5 separate regions of the Homo sapiens genome follow, and regions 2, 3, 4 and 5 are each linked to region 1. Evidence: promoter capture Hi-C in 16 types of primary human blood cells and fetal thymus (Javierre and others, 2016). All regions are on one chromosome and are shown on one strand. Each heading gives the region's core, a stretch centred on a gene start or on the middle of the fragment in contact. The rest is flanking DNA. Distances are from core to core; before and after follow the strand shown. Region 1 holds the start of PIP4K2C (phosphatidylinositol-5-phosphate 4-kinase type 2 gamma). Region 2 holds the start of STAC3 (SH3 and cysteine rich domain 3). Region 3 overlaps R3HDM2 (R3H domain containing 2). Region 4 overlaps R3HDM2 (R3H domain containing 2). Region 5 overlaps R3HDM2 (R3H domain containing 2).

The links. The method cuts DNA at HindIII sites, captures the fragments that hold promoters and counts their contacts. A CHiCAGO score of 5 or more calls a contact.
Region 2: a contact is called between the fragment with the promoter of STAC3 here and the fragment with the promoter of PIP4K2C in region 1, in 2 of 17 cell types (neutrophils and naive CD8 T cells). The highest score is 8.4, in neutrophils.
Region 3: a fragment that was not itself captured here is called in contact with the fragment with the promoter of PIP4K2C in region 1 in 3 of 17 cell types (M2 macrophages, neutrophils and erythroblasts); the score reaches 7.9 in M2 macrophages.
Region 4: a fragment that was not itself captured here is called in contact with the fragment with the promoter of PIP4K2C in region 1 in 3 of 17 cell types (neutrophils, M2 macrophages and megakaryocytes); the score reaches 8.8 in neutrophils.
Region 5: a contact is called between a fragment that was not itself captured here and the fragment with the promoter of PIP4K2C in region 1, in 3 of 17 cell types (M2 macrophages, erythroblasts and naive CD8 T cells). The highest score is 7.9, in M2 macrophages.

What each region holds. Positions count from the first base shown.
Region 1 is chr12:57,589,939-57,592,443 of GRCh38, reverse strand. It overlaps PIP4K2C (phosphatidylinositol-5-phosphate 4-kinase type 2 gamma), which reads right to left and starts at 1,252. Exons shown (of 10, transcript NM_024779.5): 1 at 981-1,252. The coding sequence starts at 1,154. RefSeq lists a silencer at 1,155-1,414 and enhancers at 1,013-1,514, 1,595-1,644. The HindIII fragment of the contact is 11,010 bases long and covers 1-2,505 here.
Region 2 is chr12:57,249,934-57,252,438 of GRCh38, reverse strand. STAC3 (SH3 and cysteine rich domain 3) reads left to right here and starts at 1,252. Exons shown (of 12, transcript NM_145064.3): 1 at 1,252-1,446. The HindIII fragment of the contact is 3,998 bases long and covers 1-2,341 here.
Region 3 is chr12:57,277,930-57,280,434 of GRCh38, reverse strand. R3HDM2 (R3H domain containing 2) reads left to right here. Exons shown (of 24, transcript NM_001394031.1): 14 at 1-77. Among named protein-coding and RNA genes, the nearest start is that of STAC3, 28 kb to the right of the region's middle. RefSeq lists an enhancer at 1-655. The HindIII fragment of the contact is 2,822 bases long and covers 1-2,505 here.
Region 4 is chr12:57,301,302-57,303,806 of GRCh38, reverse strand. It overlaps R3HDM2 (R3H domain containing 2), which reads left to right. Exons shown (of 24, transcript NM_001394031.1): 4 at 590-631. Among named protein-coding and RNA genes, the nearest start is that of STAC3, 51 kb to the right of the region's middle. The HindIII fragment of the contact is 4,597 bases long and covers 1-2,505 here.
Region 5 is chr12:57,319,052-57,321,556 of GRCh38, reverse strand. The region is part of intron 2 of R3HDM2 (R3H domain containing 2); the gene reads left to right. Among named protein-coding and RNA genes, the nearest start is that of STAC3, 69 kb to the right of the region's middle. The HindIII fragment of the contact is 1,306 bases long and covers 600-1,905 here.

The DNA.
Region 1 (2,505 bases), core at 3-2,502:
GACAAAACGCGTATTCTTCCTCACAACTTCCATCTCCACAGCCTAGCCATGACTATATTCAAGAACGCTGATTTCGAAAATATTCCGTGTCACATTCAAGATAACTGCATTTCTCCCACTCCAGACCTGACGGAAGATGGGCAATGGCTGTGCTTCTTTCAGCTGAGGTATCCTCAGGAAAGGGGATGGAGGTCTCCTTGGCCTCCTCCTGACTCCCAGAGCAGTTTCCTGCTTCAAAAGTTCACCACCATAGTGACCTCAGGAACAGAGCCCCTCAGCCTTCTCTTTGGTCAACAATCGCCACCACCTACACCAAACACGATCGCTCTAGCCAGCGATAAGGATGCAGTTAAGACCAAAGGCATATATACATAAGTCCTGAGAGTGTGCAACTTCTAGCTCAGGGTGGGGTAGCTTCTCTAAAATGCTGTACCTCTGGAAGGGAAAGGAAGGGACAAGCAGGATTAGAAAGCCCAGGAAACCTGGAGCTTCCCCGAGACAAAACCAAGATTCAAAAGCCAAGGACCGGGGCTGGGAAGCAAGGTGGAAAGCAAAGTGAAAGAACCTTTTCATCCATCTACTCCCCTCGGCCCCTCACCCTCCACCTACACTCTCACCAACAACCACCCGAGAAAAAGCCACTCCCCCTAATGTCCTCCCCGCTTGCGCCCGGTCCTGGCCAGTCCGCGTAGCCTGAGGCTGAAGCTAGACATGGCAGGAAGGAGTCAAAGCACAGGGAGCTGGATTTCACGGGGGGAAGGTGGAACTAGAGTGGAGCAGTAAAGAACTGTTGGGGAGAAAAAAGTCCACAGTCAGAAAACCTGCTGGGGGAACACCTGGGGTTGGTGGGCAGGGACCAAGACAACCCGGGGGAGGGGAGTGGCACTGCGTGGGGCTCCGGAGGCTGGAGCCTGGAAACAGGGACGCCTCGGAGCCGAGGGGTTTGGACAGGGCTGCGGGGGTCTAGGGCTGGTTCTCACCGAGTGGGCTACGCCCCACAGGAACACACCCACCAGCGGGTCGGCCGCCCGGAACACCTTCACCTTCTGCTGCACGAAATGCTTCTTCTTGGTCTTGGAGGCGAAGCCGAAACCTGGGCCGGGGCCTGCTGTCGCCGCCGATACCGTGGCTGGTGGGACCGAGGAGGACGCCATAGTCTCCCGCGCAACCGACCAAGTGGAAGCCGGAGCCGGCAGCTATCCAGGCGCCCGACCCCGGAAGCGGCGCTCACCTGCGCTGCTGTCACGTGACCGGAGGCCGGACAGCGGACGCGCGAACAGGGCGAGGCAGGACGGGGCGGGGCGACGCTGGCCCCGCCCCCCGGCGCCTGCCTGCCTGCCCCAATGTCCGCTCAGTGTGTGGGCTCACCTGGCGTGCGGGATCCCTGTAAGCTGACGAAGCAAGCGGCCCGCGAGGCCCCTCGAACTGTCAACTAGGAGACCGTGGTGCGGCCTGGGCTGGCCTGATTGACTCCCAAGGTCTAGGGCTTCTTTGCTGCAAAGTGGCCGCCTTCCGGCTTTGCCCAGTTTCTAATGAGTAACCTCGGACCTGATGCTAATGCGAAAGCATTCTTACCGAATGGGGGTTGGGAAGGGGAGGGTTTTGGAAACCCAAAATTCTTACCAGTGGTCTCAAGCGTCTTGAAATTCATTCATTCATTTAACAAGTATTTATTGTGCACTTAGTTGTACTAGGTCCTGTTCTAGGGGCTGATTTTCCTTTTATTGAAGCAGGGTATAGGACAGTGACTGCCCCGAAGTAGTTGGGAGTCTAATGGCACTGGCTGGCCAATGGAGATCAAGTTTGCAGTATGCAAAGTATGAGCTATCCTAGAACTGTGTATGAAGCAAAGACAATGATACAAAGAAAGGAAGTGTAGCTGGTCAGGGAAGGCTTCAAAGAGGATAGAGACTTTACTGAGTTTGGAAGGGTGGGTGGAGTTCAGGAATAGAGGTTAAAAGGCTGTCTAGACAAAGAGAACAGCATACAAAGACATGGAGACAAGAAAGAACGAAGCCGGGCGCGGTGACTCACGCCTGTAATCCCAGCACTTTGGGAGGCCGAGGCGGGAGGATCACCTGAGGTTGGGAGTTCAAGACCAGCCTGGCCAACATGGTGAAACCTCGTCTCTACAAAAATACAAAAATTAGCCGGGCATTAGCCGGGCGTGGTGGCGTGAGCCTGTAATCCCAGCTACTCAGGAGGCTGAGGCAGGAGAATCACTTGAACCCAGGAGGCGGAGGTAGCAGTGAGCCGAGATCACGCCAAGCAGAGATCACGCCAAGCAGAGATCACGCCACTGCACTCCAGCCTGGGTGACAGAGTGAGACTCCATCTCAAAAAAAAAAAAAAAAAAGCCGGGCATGTTGGCAGGTGCCTGTAGTCCCAGCTACTTGAGAGGCTGAGGCAGGAGAATCGCTTGAACCCAGGAGGCAGAGGTTGCAGTGAGCCCAGATCATGCCATTGCACTCCAGCCTGGGCGACAGAGCAAGACTCTGTCTCAAA
Region 2 (2,505 bases), core at 3-2,502, 340 kb after region 1:
CCCCCTTAAATAGAAAAAAGTAGTGGGTGAGAATGACAAAGCACGTTGCCCTGGAAATCTCTTGGGTCCAAGTAGCTGTATCCCTAACGACGATCCTACAGGAGCTTGCCTGACCCAGTCTCCAACACAGTCCTTTATTTCTTACAGATACAAGGAATAGAGCAGCACTGCATTGCCACCTCTAAATTGCTCTCCCCTGAGATGGGAGTATCTCCTCTTTCATCCATGTCACAGCCCAAAGAGTAGAAGGGTGCACCCCTGTGAGATGAGAATGGCATCTGTCTCTTTGATCCATCAGTTATATACTGAGGCATCAAAGGTGGGAGATGGAATCAGGGAATCAAAAGGGTTTAGGAAGTGTGAGGGTTGGCCATCCTACCTTTAAGAGTTTGCAGTTCTCATGAGGAAGGGGACATTACTTAGAAATGATTTAAAAAATTCCTTATGTGGCAGCTATATGCTTCTGTCCAGTGTTAACTGGCCCTTTTTAATAGCCCTGGTAATTCCCTTCAGTCTGAGGACAAAATTTTACAAGAAGGAGGGTGGGGAGATGTCTCTGGGAGCTGCTGGAGGGAATGAAGCAATACTACATATTCTTCACTTTCTTACAGGATAGCAAAGTACTCCTCCAACCACCTACAGATAAAAAGCAATCTAGCCATGCACGGTGGCTCACACCTGTAATCCTAGCACTTTGGGAGGCCAAGGCAGGCGGATCACCTGAGGTCAGGGGTTCGAGACCAGCCTGGCCAACATGGTGAAACCCCATCTGTACTAAAAATACAAAAATTACCTTGGCGTGGTGGTGGGCGCCTGTAATCCCAGCTACTTAGGAGGCTGAGGCAGGAGAATCGCTTGAACCTGGGAGGTTGCAGTGAGCCCGGATCGCTTCATTGCACTCCAGCCTGGGCAACAAGAGCAAGACTCTGTCTCAAAAAAAAAAAAAAAAAAGCCATCTAGTATGGCTGATAGGAGAGCTCTATGAGTTCAAATTAGTCTTTTTTTACCCTGTCTCAAAAAATAAATGAAAAATAAAAATAAACTCCCCTTAAATGTTAAATGAGCATGAACAGAAACTGTCCCTTCCTGAATTCAGCCATTATTCACCTGTTCGCCTTAGATGAAGAATCAAGGAACAGCAGCTCTAGGGGGTTGGGAGGAGTTAGGGTCCGGCCCTGCCCCAGACCTCTCAGTGTCCAATTTCTCTGTGTCAGCTGTGTTTCTCAGCTGTCCACTTTCCTCCAGCCCTGTCATTTCAGCCCTGACACCAAGGCAGGAGGCTAGGAGGTCTACAAATAGCGACTGGGTAGCTGGTGTGAACACAGGGGGTACTGGGGGGGCTTAGCCCCCAAGGAAGAGGACCAGTTTTTCCCCAGCACCACCATCAAGGCCTCGAGGCTCCCAGCTCCCTCTACAGCCTGTGGACTGACTTAGGGAATCCCGAACGTAAGTTACCTCTTCATCCTCTTGATTTCCACGACTGCTCACCCCAGCTGCCCTGATCTATAATCTACTCAGCTTCTTCATTTCTCTCCTTGTCTGTGAGTCTTTTGGGTTTTAGGCGTAAAATTATTATTCTACTCTAGGATGAGTTTGGATTGAAGCGGGGGGTGGGGGTGGGGGTGGGGTGAAGGGAATGAAGTAGTAAGGGAAGGAAAGGCTCATATTACCCTGAAAACTTAAAATAGCTGAGCCCTGAGGCAGGCTGGGACAGAACTAGGCACAGGGCCCCCAGGGCTCAAGAAAAAAGTAGGGGAGGACAAATGTCTCCAGTCCATCCTTCCTTGTGTGCACACGAGGACACACATTAAACCTCTTGAAGAGAGGAGATCTGGGAAGGTATGCATCACATCTCTGTTGCCCACAGATTTCCAGGAGAAACAAAGTACCTATAGGAAAATGACGTAAACCACGCAGCTTTGAACACTGTGTAAGGGCTGTAAACTATGGGGTCGCCCCTCAGGATGGAAGGATGAGTATCAGTTTGAGGAACTAATTGGGAAGCTCTTTAGTCTGTTGGGCTTTTTTTTTTTTTTTTTTTTTTTTTTTGAGACGAAGTCTTGCTCTGTCACCCAGGCTGGAGGGCAGTGGCACAATCCCGGCTCACTGCAACCTCCGCCTCCCGGGTTCAAGCGATTATCCTTCCTCAGCTTCCTGAGTGGATGGGATTACAGGCGTCCGCCACCACACCCGGCTAATTTTTATATATTTAGTAGAGATGGGGTTTCACCATGTTGGCCAGGCTAGTCTTGAACTCCTGATCTCTAGTGATCCGCCTGCCTCAGCCTCCCAAAGTGCTGGGATTACAGGCATGCACCACCACACCCGGCCATGTTAAGCTTTTTTCTAGACCTCCATGAAATCTGTTAATAAAACCTGCCAAAGGATCTGTATTTGGCCCAGTGCAGTGGCTCACGCCTGTCTCAACAATTTGGGAGGTTGAAACAGGAAGATTGCTTGAGCTAGTTCGGGACCAGCCTAGGCAACAAAGCAAGACCATGTCTC
Region 3 (2,505 bases), core at 3-2,502, 310 kb after region 1:
AGCAGCAGCAGCAACTTCCTGCTCTCCCACCCACGCCTCAGCAACAGCCACCCTTGAATAATCACATGATCTCACAGGTGAGTCACCACTCAGTGTCAGAGTCCTCTCCACTCTGATTCAAGCAAACTTTAGATGTACCGTCATGTCTCTTGTGCTGTGGGTGGCAGGAAGGATCAGTTTTTGGAGACATGCCACTCTCTCCCCCATTTCTCATTTGTTAGTTGTAGGGAAAGAAGAACCTTGAGCAAAGGTTTTGCCAAATAACTACTGAGTCAGCTTGGGGGTTTTTTGCTTTATATTTCTTCCTCTGCTTCCTGAACATTGTCAGTAGAATCTTTTATTTCATACCACATTTCTACTGTACCCCATCTCCCTCTATGTCCATGTGTAATTAACAAGGCATTTTTTTCCATTACATCTATATATTGGAACTTGAAAAGATTATAACTTCCACCATCATCTGACCAACTATGTGGACCCATAAACACCTATTTATGTGTTGGGGTTTGCGGAAAAAAGAAATAACACTCAAGACCCCTTCCATACATATGCCACGAAACACAAAGACTCCAAATGTGTCTTTGTTTTCCATGACTCAAAAGGGCTGTATCCTTCTCCTTCTGTTGCTGGACTGGTAAATGTTGGTACCAACTAGAGTTTAAGTGAAGTTTTGCATCTGTGGAGACCAGGAAGGTCATTAGCCTAAGAATCAGTCCTGTTCTAAACCAGAACTTCAGTATTCTGTTTTATTTCTTTCTTTTAATTTTTAAAAAATGTATTGTTATTATTATTATTTTGAGATAGGGTCTTGCTTATGTTGCCTAGGCTGGTCTCAAACTTGTGGGCTCAAGTGATCCTCCCTCCTTGGCCTCCTAAAGTGCTGAGATTACAGGCATGAGCCACCATGCCTGGCCATTGTCATTAAGGTGACTATGTTTAAAAGTCACCTTAAGGCCAGGCATGGTTGCTCAAGCCTGTAATCCCAGCACTTTGGGAGGCTGAGGCGGGTGAATCACCTGAGGTCAGGAGTTCAAGACCAGCCTGCCCAACATGGTGAAACCCGGTCCCTACTAAAAATACAAAAATTAGCCACGTATGGTGGCGGGTGCCTGTAATCCCAGCTACTAGGGAGGCTGAGGCAGGAGAATCGCTTGAACCCATGAGGCGGAGGTTGCGGCGAGCCGAGATCGCGCCACTGCTCTCTAGCCTGGGCGACAGAGTAAGACCCTGTCTCAAAAAAAAAAAAAAAAAAAAAAGTCACCTTAATACTCCGAGCAGAGCTGTGCTGAGATCTTCACTTACTCCCTTCTCACACGAATAGAGCTCTTTTTGAGGAGAGCCCCATACTTTATCCTGAAGTATTCTCTGGTAGCTGGAAAGCCCATGTGTCTGCAGTCTTTTCTGCTGTAGTTTACATTCTCATGTTACCTCCCAGGCTCCCTCATCCCTCTGCTTATTAGTCCAGCTTGGCCTTAGATATATTTCTTCCCTAGGTGTAAGAAGCAAGTCCCAAACACTAATACCCCATGAACTAGAAACTAGAGTGCAAAGACCCCAGAATGGCCCAGTATTGCCCTATCTCAAATATTGTGAAATGAAGCTGAAACAAAGAACAGTGAAGATCTAGGAAATCCTACTTTGTGTCTAAATGTAATTTGCATGCAAGTCATTGCAGTCCTCTATCTTAGTCTAAGTCAGTTCTTTCTATAGTCCTAACTTTCTTGTTCTACCACCATCTACCCCAGTAAGTCTCGTTCACTTCAGTTTACCTTGCTCCCTACTGAAGCATAGTGTCCTTGTATGTGTACTTTTCTCTGTCTGTGTCTTAATTCAAACCTGTAAGTGGGTAAACTATGCTTCTCCTTCTGTCATCTGCTACCGTGTTTTTTATGTGTATGACTTGCTTTTCCAAGGTCCTAATATTTTCTAGGTTTTTTTTTCCCTAAAATGTGTATTTTAATAGTCTTGCTCCCTTTTCTCCCTCTTAGTCTCCCATCTGCCTGCATCTTCCACCTATAATCTCATACCTAGAAACAGACGAGACGGCAAGAGTGGGAGAGGAATAAAGAGATAAAAGAACCATTTGGGACTGAAATTTATACAGAATGTCCAAGTGACTGGCCCTAAACCCCAATCTTCTACTCAGGTTCTGTCCCTGCTACTGGATTGTGAGGGTCAATTGGTCGATCGTTGGCATTGGCTTATCTCCTATGGGGAGTGTGGTGCCAGGTTAGGTGCTATAGCTCGGGGGTAAAGGAACACTACTTGGTGCAGCAATTCCTGTTCTCTTAGAAATTCATTCTTGAGATTAATTGTGATCACTAACTCCAAATGAAAGAATTTATCCAGGTTTTGATGCCCTGGAAGCATTTATGGAAGCTGCTAAAAATTATCCCACCATCTCACTGTATGTATCTCCTTTTTTCTCCCTCTCCACTTTTTCACCCTTCCTCTTTATTTTTTTATTCCTCTTCCTACTGCCATTTTCTTTCTTTCTTTTGCTTT
Region 4 (2,505 bases), core at 3-2,502, 290 kb after region 1:
AATGGTTTTTGTTGTTTGGTTTTTGAAACAGGGTCTGGCTCTTATCACCCAGGCTGGAGTGCAGTAGCGTGATCTCGGCTCACTGCAACCTCCTCTTCCCAGGCTCAAGCCATCCTCCCACCTCAGCCTCCCAGATACCTGAGACTACAGGTGCATGCCACCACACATGGCTAATTTTTTTTTTCTTTTTCTTTTTCTTTGTCTTTTTGGTTTTGTTTTTTTTTTTGTAGAGATGGGATTTCGCCTTGTTGCCCAGGCTGGTCTCAAACTCCTGAGCTCAAGGGATCCGCCTGCCTCGGCCTCCCAAAGTGCTGGGATTACAGGCATGAGCCACCACATCTGACCATCTTCTGATTCTCTAACTTAATGGTGAATGGTGATTTGACTGTATTGGCCTGTAGTCCCTTTCCTGTCACAGTTGTTAGAGTTGTAGGTTGTAGGGAGAAACCCACATCAAGTGGTCCTCATCATAGTTTGGCTGTTGTAATGGTTTTTACAGTTAGTGCTTTTTCTTTATAAACATGTATTGTTTTTAACTTACATGTCGATTTTCTTCCACCTTTAATATTTTCCAATTCCCTTCTAACAGAGGCGGACATCTAACCATGGTCATGCCAGGAAAAGAGCCAAGGTGAGAGCCCTTCCTCTAGCTTCTTTTCTAATGTTATTAGTAATACATTTCACAAGTAGACTTGTCATGAATATCTAGTTTGTTCAAATTATGTAGGCAGAGTTTTCTTGCCTGTACTCTGTACCCCAATTGTGAACCTGCGTAAGTGTGCATACACACATGTACACATACACATACATACCTCTAATGGAAACTGTGTAGGCGTACATAGGTGTATACACATTTGATGCCTGAAAGGCTACCCAGCTGGAGCCTTCCACAGAGCCTGAAAGAACTGGATACTAGTTGTGCTGAAATACCAGTTTCTCTGCTCACTCCTAGCTTCTCTAGGAGAATGGCTGCTTATATGAGTCTTTTTATTCCCCCTTCTTTTTTTTTTTTTTTCCTTGTGAGTTTTCTTTATGATAAATCCTGCCCCACTAAGAAAAATGACTCAACATTTCTGGATATCCTAAAAATACAGGCTTTTTTTTCCCCCTAATGTTTTACTTTTTTTTTTTTTTTTTTTGAGACGGAATTTTTTGCTCTCTTGCCCAGGCTTTAGTGCGATGGTGCAATCCTGGCTCGCTGCAACCTCCGTCTTCTGGATTCAAGCATTTCTCCTGCCTCAGCCTCCCAAGTAGCTGGGATTACAGGCGCCCGCCACCATGCCTGGCTAATTTTTGTAATTTTAGGAGAGATGAGGTTTCACCATGTTGGTCAGGCTGGTCTCGAACTCCTGACCTCAAGTGATCTGCCCACCTCGGTCTCCCAAAGTACTGGCATTACAGGCATGAGCCACCGTGCCCGGCTTCGAACTCTTGACCTTAGGTGATCCACCCGTCTCAGCCCCACAAAGTGCTAGGATTACAGGCATGAGCCACCATGCCTGGCCATTTTTCTTTTCTTTTCTTTTCTTTTTGAGATGGAGTCTTACTCTGTAGCCGGAGTGCAGTGGTGTGATCTCGGCTCACTGCAACCTCTGCCTTCCGTGTTCAAGTGATTCTCATGCCTTAGCCTCCCAAGCAGCTGGGCTTACAGGCACACACCACTAGGCCAGGCTAATTTTTGTGTTTTTAGTAGAGGTGGGATTTTGCCATGTCACGCAGGCTGTTCTCGAACTCCTGGGCTCAAGCGATCCACCTGTCTTGGCCTCCCAAAGTGCCGGGTTTACAGGCATGAGCCACCGCACTCAGCTAACCTAATGCTTTACTTTTTAGGGGGCAGGAAGAGGATTTTGCTTTTAATCATTATATGATAAACTTAGCACATCACAGATTATTTTAAGCAGAGTTATCAGGGAAGACTACATGTGTTAGTGTGTGATAGGTTTTTAATTTAGCTGGGAAGCAGTAAAGTATTAAATTTTTCTTGCATTGGGAAGAATTGCCACCAAAAGTAATAATTAAGGTTGGCCACCCTGTTCCTCCAAAAAAATAATGATAGAATTTGGAGAGTGGCTCAGCCACTATGTGGCTTGAGTTTGAAGAAGGCCAAGAACTATGATAAATTGGCTCTGTGGCTTGCCTTACATGGCCTGATCCATAGTGACGGGCTTGATGTTAAAGTTCAAAACAAAGGTTACTTACTGCTACTTTAGTTCCTCTCAAATTTTTTGGGATAAGTAAGACAGCTATTATCTCCATCTTACAGATGAGGAAACTTAGGCTATAGGGATTGAGTGGCTTAACAAATCAGTAGCAGTAGCTTAACATTCAGTAGCAAGTGACAGAATTAGGCATGATGTTAATTCTTCAGGCTCGCAAGTTCTTTCTGCTATACTGCACTACTTAGAGCATACCTGTCATGTTTTGTACTTTGGTATTTACTGTAATCCTTGGTTTTATTGTATTGAGTCTCAGTAAATGTTTATAGGTAGATTTCTAATGAGTCAC
Region 5 (2,505 bases), core at 3-2,502, 270 kb after region 1:
CCTCAGCTTCCCGAGTAGCTGGGATTACAGGCATGCCACCACCACACCCGGCTAATTTTTGCATTTTTAGTAGAGACGGGGTTTCACCATGTTGGTCAGGCTGGTCTCGAACTCCTGACGTCAGGTGATCCACCCAACCTGGCCTCCCAAAGTGCTAGGATTACAGGCATGAGCCACTGTGCCCGGCCCTATCCATGTTTTTGTGTGTCTCAGTATGTACAGTAAGGTTGAGCAACCTTTACCCAAAATGCTTGGGACTGTCTGTATTTCAGATTTAAGATTTTTTGGATTTTGGAAATTTTTTTAAATTTTGGAATATTATGGTTGACCATCCATAATCCAAAACCCAAAATTGGAAATGTTCCTATGTACATCCCTTGAGCATCATATTGGTGCTCAAAAAGCTTTGGATTTTGTACTCTTTCAGATTTCAGATTTTCTCATTAGGGATGCTCAGCCTATAGTTCAGTCTTTTTTATTATTAAATAATATTACATTTGTTTATTCTCCTGAGCCCCTAGATTTTAAACATTTTTTAAAATGTATCAATTGAGAGTAACTTATGATTGATAAACAAATTAGTACAGGACCGGAAAGCTTCCAAGGAATTTGCCACAGGGTAGACCAGAATTTTTAGCACCTAGATATCGTTGTCTTGCTTGCATTCTCTCTACTTGGCCATAGATTAAAAGTGAGAAAATGAAATTATTCTTCTGTCTCTGAATATCCCCTATCTAACATATTCCTTTTGGCTCAATGCCTAGAAAGTTGTTTATAAATTGATGGAAGGATATATAATCTCACTCTATTATGGAAGGTACTTACCCTAGCAGTAAAAAAAATTATAGGGAATATGCAGTATTCTCCCTGAAAAAAATAGGTGAATCTTGGCTTCCAATAATCTTCCCCTGTATTATCCTATTTCTTCACTGCCCCACCTGTTCCCCCGACATCTCACAGTCCCCTCTGTGCAGCTTTGAGCTACTGAGTATCCTCAGGAGACATCTTGCCTTTGAAATTGTACTATTTGGCTGGATGAAATGTACACTGTACACAAATAGGTTGTAGGGAAGCACACATCTAGGCCCTCCTGGGAGCCTAATGTCTGCTTTGTTCTAGTCACCATTACATATGAAGTAGTTCCTTTCTTCTCCCATCAAAAACCTCCCAAACCCTTAATTTCTTCTCTATACCAAATAAACTATTAAGAATGGAATTACTTCTCTGCCTTTTAAGCTACTACTGGCTTTATTTTAGCTGTTTAAGGCTTTTTTTTTTTTTTTTTTTTTTTTTTTGAGATAGAGTTGCACTCTTGTTGCCCAAGCTGGAGTGCAGTGGAGCAGTCTTGGCTCACTGCAACCTCCACCTCCCGGGTTCAAGCGATTCTCCTGCTTCAGCCTCCTGAGTAGCTGGGATTAGCAGGCACGCACCACCACCCCCAGCTAATTTTTTGTATTTTTAGTAGAAACGGGGTTTCACCGTGTTGGCCAGGCTCATCTCAAACTCCTGACCTCAGTGATCCGCCCGCCTCCCAAAGTGGTGGGATTGCAGGCGTGAGCCACTACGCCCAGCCTAAGGCTTTTTTTAGTTGGTTGCTTTCTTTTGCTTTTGTTTTGGCCCAGAAAAAATTGTTTCCAGGAATCTTTATGCCCCAAGAGTAACGAGAGCCTTCTGCATTGGCTGAAAGGACTGGAAATGACCTTAATTAAAGGTTATTTTGGAAAGCAAAAGAGAGCCTCAGCCTAAGAAATACAGTTTTATGCTTAGTTTATCTTCCAGTGGATCTTAACTCTGTATTAGTAACAGTCTGACCCCTCATTACTCGCCTCTGCCTACTTTCAGGGCAGTTTCTTTTATCCTAGAAGAAAATGGTAAGGAGACTTAAAGCCATGTGATTTGAAAGCTTGACTTAAAGAAGCTGGGAATGTTTAGAGAAGGAAATAAGGTAAAGTTTTCTTTTACAAAGAGCTGATAGGGAAGCAAGATTAAGCTTGTTCTTTATGACTCGCACAGAAGGCTAAACAGGGGCCGGTGGGAGGAACTACCAAAGAGGTAAATTTTGCCTCTTTAAAAGGAAAGTGTTCCAAAAAGAAATGGTTTCTTTCTGGAGGTGAAGACTTTCCCTTCACTAAGAGGTATACAAGCAGGGACATTTTTCACAGTTACTAATGAGTTAAGAACCTAATTATGGAAGACTACGGTTGTAGAAAAATGGAGCTAAGGCTGGGCGTAGTGGCTCACGCCTGTAATCCTAGCACTTTGGGAGGCTGAGGCGGGCAGATTACTTGAGGTCAGGAGTTCGAGACCAGCCTGGCCAACATGGTGAAACCCCTTCTCTACTAAAAGTACAAAAATTAGCCGGAAATTGCTTGAACCCGAGAGGCGGAGGTTGCCGAGATCATGCCGCTTGCACTCCAGCCTGGGCAATAGAGCGAAACTCCATCTCAAAAAAAAGAAAAAGAAAAATGGAGAATGAGAAAGCTTCTAAATACCCTTACAGTTATG